Regions from separate parts of the Homo sapiens genome. Here region 1 is linked to region 2. The links are contacts of gene promoters, found by promoter capture Hi-C in human tissues and cell types (Jung and others, 2019). All regions are on one chromosome and are shown on one strand. The core of a region is centred on a gene start or on the middle of the fragment in contact, and the rest is flanking DNA. Distances in the headings are between cores, read along the strand shown.

Region 1 (5,382 bases), core at 315-2,814, 390 kb before region 2:
GCTCTCTCCTAGGGCTTTCCCAATTGAGTAACCCACTGTCTCCTCCCAGAGGAATCTGCCTGACATTATTCCCCAGTGGCAACTTGATTACATGCAAAATCCCTTTCACCACCTTGTAGGAAGATCAGAGAAAACACCATGAGTATCTCTGCTTGTTGCCACAGTTTTGTTTTAACTCCCCACCCTAGATATCTCATATAGCACACAGCTCCATGGCCCTGCTAGACGTCCTCCAAGACTCACAATCCAACATTTACTGGGGAGGTTTTTACACAAAAGTAGGGGGGTTACACAAAAAAGGAGGTGAAGCTACTCCATGCATTTGTCTGTAAAGGGTCATCCCACAGAATTCATCCCTCTAGCCCCATCAGGGAGGAGCCCCATCAGGAAGTGCCCTCACATGGCATCATACTATTCCTTAAGGGAAGCCATTTCCCATAGCGGGTCAGCCTCTCAATGCTGTTGGATCCTGTCATAATAAGATTCCATTTCCATGTAGCCATTCTGCAGGGAGCATCCTATGTGTGTCCTAATAGGCTGGGATAGTTTCCTAGGGCTGCCATAATATGGCACACAGACTGAAGAGCTTAACCACAGAAGTTTAGTTTCTCACAATTTTGTAGGATAGAAGTCCAACAACAAGCTGTCAGTCTGGGGTGGTTTCTCTGAGCCCTCTCTTCTTAGCTTGGAGATGGCTGTCTTCTGTCTCTGTATTCAGAGGGTCTACTTTTGAGCTTTTTTGTGTCCTAACCACCCCTCCTTATAAGACCTGCAGTCATATTAGATTAGGGTACACATCAACAAACTCACTTCACCTTAAAAAAAAGAACCTATATCACAGACACACAATTTAATAGAGGCAGAGTCTGGATTCCAACCTATGCTGTTCCTGATCTTATCCATGATGTTATTGCCCCAGTTAACATCTGGCAGGAATTAATGTATCAGACTGCTTCTGTCACCCAGCCAGAATCTAAGAGAATAAGACATCAGACAGGTTTATTTGATGGAGGTATAAAGTGAAGAAAGAAGGGAAAATGGAGATGTATCATATGGGTATGCTACACAGAAAGTGCAGATAATTGTCAAATAGATTATTCATTTAGCTCCTACCAGTTTTTGCTTCTACTTGTCTCCTGGTCTAAGATTTTGACGTTGATAAACCTGCCTCTCTTCCTTTCTGCCTTTCTGCCATTTGACAGCTCCCTGGGCTTTCATATCTGCATGTTTTCAACTTGGCTTGTCCTGTTGAGCCTGTGTAACCCAGTCCCTCCCAATGTTCTCTGGGTGGGGTGGCAGAGCAGCTAATATTAGGCAAATATTTCTATAACTCTTTGTAGTGTGCTGTAAGAGTAGATACATGTGAGAACTTCTTTTCAGGCATGCATTCTTCTTTTCCTCCATCAGCCAGGATCAACACACTTGAAAGACTCGAATTTGTGCTCTTCTGCTGTGCATTCATCAGTTTATGTGATGCACAACACATACATTTTAAATGTTCTTAAAATTTTAAAATATAATTTTGATAAGAGGTCTGCTTACTTGATTTGCAGAATCTTAACAAAATGGCTAGATGGGGTCTTTCAAGGCTACATCTTCTGAGGAGTTTCATTAACTTAAGACATTATGTTAAAAACAAAAATATAGAATCTAAGAATGGCTGCATTATGTTGTGGACTCAGGAATAATTATGTACATTTGCATGTGTTGCAGAGTAGTCTTTTGATATCATTGTCCTTTGCTATTCAATCCTGTTGAAGGATTAGTAAGAGCTCTAGAGGCAGCAGCTAAGGCAACCATCTCTCTGCTTACTGGTTTCCAGATCTATTTTCATACACAATCCAGATTCTACTGACGTTCTTCTATTAGTCCTAGGTTATTATTTCATTCTCAGCTGTAACATTCACTTGTTTTGTATCAGTATTGAAGAATCCTCAGTTCTTGTTTTAGTTAAAAGTTCACTTTAATTACAGATCTTTAAACTACTAACATAGAAAGGAAATTGCTTTCTTCCAGTGTTTTTGGGAAACACCTAGATATAGCTTTATATTTGTTTGTTTATTTTGCTCACCTCTGAAATTCTGAGCCATGGATATATTTAAAAAGTAAATTGTAAATTTTGGTTTTTGTGTTTCAATAAGCTCCAGTAACTCTATCTTTCAATATTATCATCCAGCTAAAGGTAAGGGGAAAGACATAAGGGCAAACGATATGCGTAATGGAGAAAAAGGCACTGATAACAAGGCAACTGAAAGGTGACTGCACTGGAATCCAGCTTTCATAAAAGTGAGCCCCTGTGCAGCCAGCCTTGCAGGGACACTAATATGCAAAGGACCAGCATGATTGACAGTAGCATGACTCTCATACTCAGTCCCAGAGTTTGACATAAATGGCAGCATCTTTTAATTGACTTCCATGCCTTTCTGTCATCATCCTTCATGAACAAGCTGGCTAAAATAATATTCACAGCCACCAGGGAAAAGCACATGAGGTATCATCTTGACAGTGTTCATTTAAGAGATGTAACTGTAAAATCCAACCATTTTACATTTCTGCATTGATGATCTTGCTGCTGATGGACCAATTTCCCTTGACAAGGTTTTCCAACCATCTCTAGAATACACGTATTCATTTTCCAGTTTATATACTTTTTATTACTTAAAATATGATATAATTTTTATTTTGCCAGCTAATACAATACATATATCTTCATTACAAGATAAGCTAAATAAAACAGATTAAAACATTACAGATAAGCCTAACACCCCCTTATCTACCCACACCAACCCCAGATACTTCTCCAAAGGGACTTTCATCTGTTAGCTTTCTATCCTTCATACATTTACTATGAAGTCATGTGTGTCTCTACATAGAAATTATGTAGACTTCTTTTTTTACAGGAATGGCATCAGATTTTATGTATTGCCCCTTGTTTTGTGTTGGAGATATTTTATGTCAGTATATACGGATTTACCTCATTAAAATGATGAATAATATTTCTAATATAAAAATGTACTTTTAGATGGTTAAAAAATTACATAAATGGTGTTTGGTACATAGTTCCTGAGTACCATGACAACACTGTTGAAATCAGTGAGGTACATCTGTATGTAGTGAAATGAAAAGATCTCTAAAGCACAGTGCATGAGAAAAAGAACAATTTGTACATTATGATTCAATATGTAAGAATTTTTAAAAATGCATGTTTATGGGTGTGTGTGTGTGTGTGTGAGTGAGTACACAGACAAAGGAGGAAGAATATATCCTAAACTGTTAAAGTGGTTTGTTTTGTTTGAGTGTTGGCTTTAGATTTTGGCATGTGTTTTCATCTTTATCAATGTCTTATTTGATGTATATTGGCAGCATTTTGGAAACACTTAGCTGGGGATAGCTAGCCTGATGAAATATTAAACCAGAAATTACTATGTATTTGTTTCATGCTCAATCATCCACAGATCATGCATATTTTATTGTATTTATTTTATTCAACAATAATGAAAATGAATCAAGCTCTATCTCCATGCCAGCTACTATGTAAATAAGTAAATAAGTAAAACTGTAATGTTTTTCACCTTCTACAGTTTTCCCTGAGTTAGCTGCTTATTGGCATCAGTTGGTGGCTGTTATTAAACATTAGGATTTCTGTATCAACTAGATTCATTAAATGATGATTTCATGTAAAAAGAGTTTCTATTTTCAACCCTATATAAGAGACAGAACAGAGGGAAAATTATCCTAGCTCATGTGGCTTCTTAACCTTTTGTAACCATAGATGATAAGTTGGAATTTGTGAGGTTCAAAAAATGTTCCAGTTTGGAATTGTTTTTATGTATCATTAAAAGCAAAGTTAGGAAGTACAAAACCATGTGGACTTTCTTATATAAGTAAATGTGGCTTTTCACATTGACCCTGTGGTAAGCTAAATTTTGCTTTTATTATGTTATTCCAGGTCCCACAAATTGTCAGAACTTTGCAAATGTGTTTCTAATTCCCTGACAGTTTATTAGGTAAAGATCATCCGATATCATCTGAGCAGCATTAACCTCCAGTGGAATATATTATTCTATTTGAATTTATTAATTTCTTCAAGATTCCAACTTACATAGCTGCAATACTTATATAACTAGGATAACTAAAGTGCATTTACTGTTAGCAGATAGTCTCTCTCTCTCTTTCTCTATTGCACAGTACTAACAAGGAGGCATAGGCAACTAATCTTAGAACTGTTCTACTGCCCACTTAAAAGTCAGTAAAAGTGATAGCAATAAGAATTCAAAAAGAAATCCAATTCTTTTAGGAGAATCTAATCTCCAATAGTCTGGAAAAATAGTTTAAACAGAGATGGACTAATAAGAACTAAATTTGGTTCAGAGTATGGTTCAAAGATCTGCTCAGATATGGGCAACTCACTGTCTTCTCCCTTTCCTAAACAAAGTGGGCTGTCATTCCAGCAATCCTGCCCACCATAGGGTATGGCCAGGTGAGTAGGAAGATTCAGAGTGAGGATCTGCAGAAGAGACACAGAATATTGACTACAGCTTACTTTTCTCTAAGCGTGCTCATTTCTAGTATTCCTGTTGTCATGCTCAGAACAACACCAAATGAACTGAGAATGGGAAAGAAGAACGGAGGCCATCAACCTTGGCCAAGACAAAGAAATATTACAAAGGGAGATGAACTTCGCTGTGTTATAAAAGTAGTGAAGCATTATGATTCAGAACACAGGCTTTGGGCTAACTTTCATGTATGGAATGACATGGAAGGAAGGTCAGTTGCAAATTGCCTTTTTCCTTTGGCTAGTGTTTGCATGGAACATCTTTTTCCTTTTTTTTTTTTCTTTTTTACTTTCAATCTATCTGTGCCTTTTTATTTAAGAAGTGATTTTTGTAAAAAGCATACAGTTGCATCAGTTTTAATCCAATCTGAAATATTCTGTCTTTTAACTGGAGTGTTCAGTACATGTACATTTAATGTAATTATTGAGATAGTTGGACGTAAGTCTATTATCTTCTTATTTGTTGACAAATTTTTCCATCTATTTGTTCCTTTATTTCTCTTTTCTTGCCTTCTTTTGTATTAATGGAATATTTATATTTTATTTTATCTTCTCTATTAGCTTTTTTGGTTATACTTTGGGATTCCTTTAGTGTTTTCCTAGAAATTGCAAGTGCATTGTTACATTATTGGTCTAAGTTAGTAATTTTGCCAAATCCCTCAATATGTAAGAAATTTATAACAGCATAACTTAATTTCTACCTCTTACTTTGTTTCCTACTGTCATATATTTTACTTCCAGAAATTATAAACCCACAAGACTTTTTTTTTTTTTTTTTTTTTTTTTTGAGACGGAGTTTCACTCTTGTTGCCCAAGCTGGAATGCAA
Region 2 (4,909 bases), core at 2,108-4,607:
TATATAAATGATATTTGTAATTAACTGTGGTTATATAAGAGAATGTCCCTGTTTTATGAAATAAATGCTGAGGTATTTAAGGGTAAAAGAGCATGATATTTGCAATTTATTCTCAAGTTGTTTAAAAAAAGAGAGAATGATAGAGCAATTGGGGTAAAATATTAACAACTGATTAATTTGGAGAGTGTATCGAAATTCCTTCTACTCTTGCACCTTTTGTGTAAGCATGAAATGTTATCTAAATAAAAAGTTATAAAAATGTGAAATAACTGAGGGAGCTTTGCTCACTTCTGTAAGAGTGTTAAGAGTTAAGAAGGAACTGATAAGTTAAAACGTAGATAACTCAAACCCATTCTGCCTACCAAATTATGGGGTCACTATCAAACAACTTTCCTGTGACTAACAAGTACTTCTGGCAATAAAACACTCCTATTAAATTTAGACACAGATCTGAAGGAGTTCAACAAGATCCAAACAGGAACTACTAAAGGTCATTGCCAAACCTCAAGGACGGTAACAGAAGATAAGTTTCCTCCCTGGGAAAGGCCCTCTAGTGAGTACTGCAACCCATTCTCTGAAAGAAGGTTTAGAATAGTCTAGAATATCTAGAATTTATTCCAGAAAATAGATCTGGAAAATTAGCGAAACCTCTTCTTAAACAGCTGCTTAAAAAAAAAAATAAAGTTAACTTTCACTGTGTTGGACACCCTATGAGTTGTTGGTCTTTCATTTCATTGTCAACAGAACCCTGCAAGACTGGTGTTACCATGTCTACTTTTACATATGAAGAAAATGCAACTGAGAATTAGTGTAATTTGTTCCAACTCACAAAGGTAGGAAGTGATGGAAGTAAAATTCCAACACAAGGTCTGTGCTACTTCAAAACTTATATCCCAACCCATCAAGACAGCACAAATAGGCTGCATTTTGAAGAACTGGGTATCATTAAATGATAACTGAATGCACCCCAAACTCTAAATTAACTAATATTAAATTATTACATGAGAATCTTAATAAGATAGCCCTTAAGGCAAAAGATGACTTTTTATTGACTCCAAACAATCAGAAAACTTAACTTTTCATTTTAATTCAAATATGTTCACATATACACCAGAACTTGAGCTTTTCCCTACCCCAGTTGTTTTCACTGATGGTTCTCTCTCTCTGTCTCTCTCTTTCTCTCTCTCTCCCCACCTTCTCTCTCTCTCCCTACCTTCTCTCTCTCCCCTCCCCTCCCCACTCTCTCGCTCCCCTTCTCTTTTGCTCTCCCCCTCACTCTCTCTCCCTCTCTCCCTCTATCTTTCTCCCTCTCTCTCTCTCTTTCTATCCCCCTTCCTGCTCCCTGCCCCATTCCCTTTTCTGTTCTCCCTCTTTTAGACTGAGTGGTATAAAATGTTACAAAGTTTTCTGCTGCCCTCCAGTGGTCTTATCCTGGAAGTGGCAGTCACGATAGGAAAAATAGCAAAACCTTTATAGAAGATAATAATAAAATGACACACTCTTTTAGAGTGTTTTAAGATCGTGGGCTTCAGGAGACAGAAAAGCACCTGTGATTACTAAAAAGTTATTAAACTTCACAGGGCCTCAACAACCACATTTATAAAGGAAAGGTTAAAATATCTCTTCATGGTCGTCCCATGGGTTGAGATAACATGCAAAAAGGTCTTGAAGTACAGTACTTGCTCAATAAAAGAAAAGTTTCACCTTATTTAAGCCTGACAACTTTCTATAAGGTTAAGGAAACTGAGGCTAAGCACAAATTACTTATTTTTTAAAGTTACCTCAGCCAGCATTGTGGGTAGAACTCAAACTATAATTCAAATTTTCATATTCTAAGTCTAGTTCTCTTCATGACATCTCAATATTCCAAAGTAACAGTTGCTAATAAGGAACCTTAAGAATTGTTAAAGTCTTAAAGGGATATTTTCACACACTGCTAGTGGTTGCCATTAAATCTGAAAAATATGCATTCCATGGATCAGTAGTCACATCTCTAGAACTGCATCTTAAAAATTGTGAGAAACACACAAAAATTTATGTAGTTGAAAACAAGCTAAATATAAGATATTTATTAAATAAACTTTGGTGCAAATAATAATAATTGGTTTTATTTGTTGGAAAATTTCTAGGTGCCAGATGCTATTCTAAGGAGTATGAATGTATCAACACTAAAATGAAGTTGGTACTATTATTATCTCCATTCAACACATGAGGAAACAGAGAGACAGAGAGGTTAAGTAGCTTGTCCAAGATCACACATTTAGGAAGAAGGAGCACCAGGAATTGAACTGAGATGTCTTATTCAAGAGTCCATGTTCTAGTCACTTATCAATCTTCTTCTGAGACTGTCCATGGATCCACCCATGCTGTCCCATTGTGTGGCAGCACCTATGTAATGGAATATAGTGAACCTTTGTTTAAAAAATGTTTCAATAGGTATTAAATTATATAGGGACATGCTTACATTAAAATATTAAGGGGAATAAACAGTATGCAAAACTGCATACTATATTATTTCAGTTCTAGAAACCTGTGTGTGTGTATGTCTAAGGGTGTATAAATCAAAATCCAGACCTAATTAGTGGCTGTCTCCAAGTGACGGGTTATGTGTCATTTTTTTCTCCTTTGTGCTTTCTAAATATTCTGAATATTTGTTAATGAGACAGAACTGCTGTGATCATCAGAAAATTTAGATTAAAAAAATTCAGGGTGCCAAAAAATTCTAGAATACTTAAGAACAGCACTTAGTTTACCTTAAAAGTTAAAAATTGAATCCAGAAGTAAATATTTGCAAGAAAAACAATTATCAAGGATTGCTAACTTTTAGTTTCTTAAATAATGAATCCAGAAGTATAAATACAAAATATTTGCAAGAAAATATAATTATATCAAGGGTTGGGAGGAGAAGAAGGATGTTTAGACTAGAAAGGGTAGTACCTACCTAAAAGAGAGTGCTTAATAGAACTGTGCTGGATTAAGTTTGCACAGTGGACCCTATTTTAACTTATGTCAGCTCTACATAAGCAGTCTCCTGACAGTCGTCATTAGGATTCACTGGAGACTGGAACTGTGCGGACAGAGGGCCTGTCTTCAGAAGAGAAAATGGGGGAAGAGCTTTGAACCCAGAGGTACAATCTCTGGATTGGAGAGTTTCAAAGGTGCCAGGGAAAAGCAGTACAAAGAGCCTTCTTTTTGACAATAACTCTAAAACACACTTTGCTCTGTGAACGCCCGTCCTGGGCAGGGCCTATCAGCAGGGCCAGATGAGCCTATAGACACCCAGGGTGGCGCGTTCCCAGCCGCCCTGCGCATGCCAATCTTATCAGTTTTGATGGAAGCCTGGGGCTCCAGATAATGCTACTTGGCCCCAAACGCTGGACAGAGCATGCTTTTTCCTGTTTGGCTGGGAAAGGGAAGGCTGAACTGCTGAGTCTGACACTTAACAGGACTTCGGCATTCCCCTGAATACAGACTAGATCAGAGATTTTATTTTTTTAATTGAAAAGTAACTTGGGTTCTCTTTAGAAACCCTTATTTGGTGTGCGCATCTGGCTATTTCACAGAGATTTCAGTTTTGCAAAGAAGTCGGAGTTGATTTCTTCCCTCAGACAAGCTATTGGTTGTTGGTGGGCAACAGAAGTTGCTCAGCATAGACAGGGGAAAAAACGGTTACGGATGAGACTGAAAGAAAACCTCAAAGGAGAACTCTGAGAATTCATCTCAGGATGAAGCTGCAAGGGCAAAGGAGAAGTACTTGTGACACAAGCAAATGGGTCCATTGATCAACAGATGCAAGAAGATTCTTCTCCCAACTACTGTACCTCCTGCAACGATGAGAATCTGGCTCCTTGGAGGCCTGCTGCCATTCCTGCTGCTCCTCTCTGGCCTGCAGAGACCCACAGAGGGTTCTGAGGTAGGGGGACAATTGAGGGGGTGATCTCTTTATGATCAGTGCTCCAACAGAGCATTCACCCGGCCACAGCCTTTAAATGGCCGAAAACTTAGGCATTCAGAATCTAGTTTCATTCAGACATTTTAACAAATCATGTTAGTAAAGAGTGTTGAAAACAGTTATGAAAAATTGTAGAATCCTTCACTGTTAGTACACTTGACATTATGGATGCTAGTGGCATAAAGTTATTTTCCTGATCCACTGTAAAAATTAAGTAAAATATTGCTTCCATAGTACAAACAATGCAAAATAAACCAAGTCTATTTGGCTTTAAACTCTAGCATACAGATTGACTTAAGTTTTAAGTGAATATTTTAATAAAGATCTGTGTAACAAAAAACAACCTAATGTTAAGAGATGACAGAGTACATATTTGAGATCTAGTAACATATTAACAAAGTTTCAGAGTTCATCATGACAGTTGACAGAACATTGTATTATTGGTTTGGTTTGGCTCGGCTTGGCTTAAATAGATACCGTAGACCTATTTTAATACCTGATGTGAAGAGTTATTGGTTAAAATCATTTAATCAGTCTTAAAAATGTGTTCTAGTTCACAAACAACTAGCTGACGTCTCATCATAAATAACATAGTAAAAATACCAAATGGGATGTTCTTTAAGTTCCAGTTCCAACATCCTTAACATTGACTGGATGGAATGTGATCCTTTAACATGTCCCTCAATGAGTACTGTTTATTACGAAAACATCATTTCTTTGCCAAGAAAGGAATGTTTTAGAATTTATATAATTTATATATGGCTCTAAATGATAGTCTGATGATATTTTGTGGACTTCTATTCAAATCTGTCATTTCAGTTTAGCATGCACTAGACGTGAATAAACAACATTCTGTTGGCTACCCATTAGAAAGGAATGTCCTTTTCCAGGAGGGGAGGGACTTTCCTAGGCACATTCCTGACCACTGTCCAACCCTTGACTCACTCTGCTGTCCCT

The links. The method cuts DNA at HindIII sites, captures the fragments that hold promoters and counts their contacts. A contact is called where the count stands out against the background at its distance.
Region 1: a fragment that was not itself captured here is called in contact with the fragment with the promoter of ART4 in region 2 in 1 of the 25 tissues and cell types used here (lymphoblastoid cells).

The regions. Positions count from the first base shown.
Region 1 is chr12:15,228,742-15,234,123 of GRCh38, reverse strand. No RefSeq gene overlaps it. Among named protein-coding and RNA genes, the nearest start is that of RERG, 10 kb to the right of the region's middle. The HindIII fragment of the contact is 8,704 bases long and covers 1-5,382 here.
Region 2 is chr12:14,841,974-14,846,882 of GRCh38, reverse strand. ART4 (ADP-ribosyltransferase 4 (inactive) (Dombrock blood group)) reads left to right here and starts at 3,357. Exons shown (of 3, transcript NM_021071.4): 1 at 3,357-3,913. The coding sequence starts at 3,770. The HindIII fragment of the contact is 17,730 bases long and covers 1-4,909 here.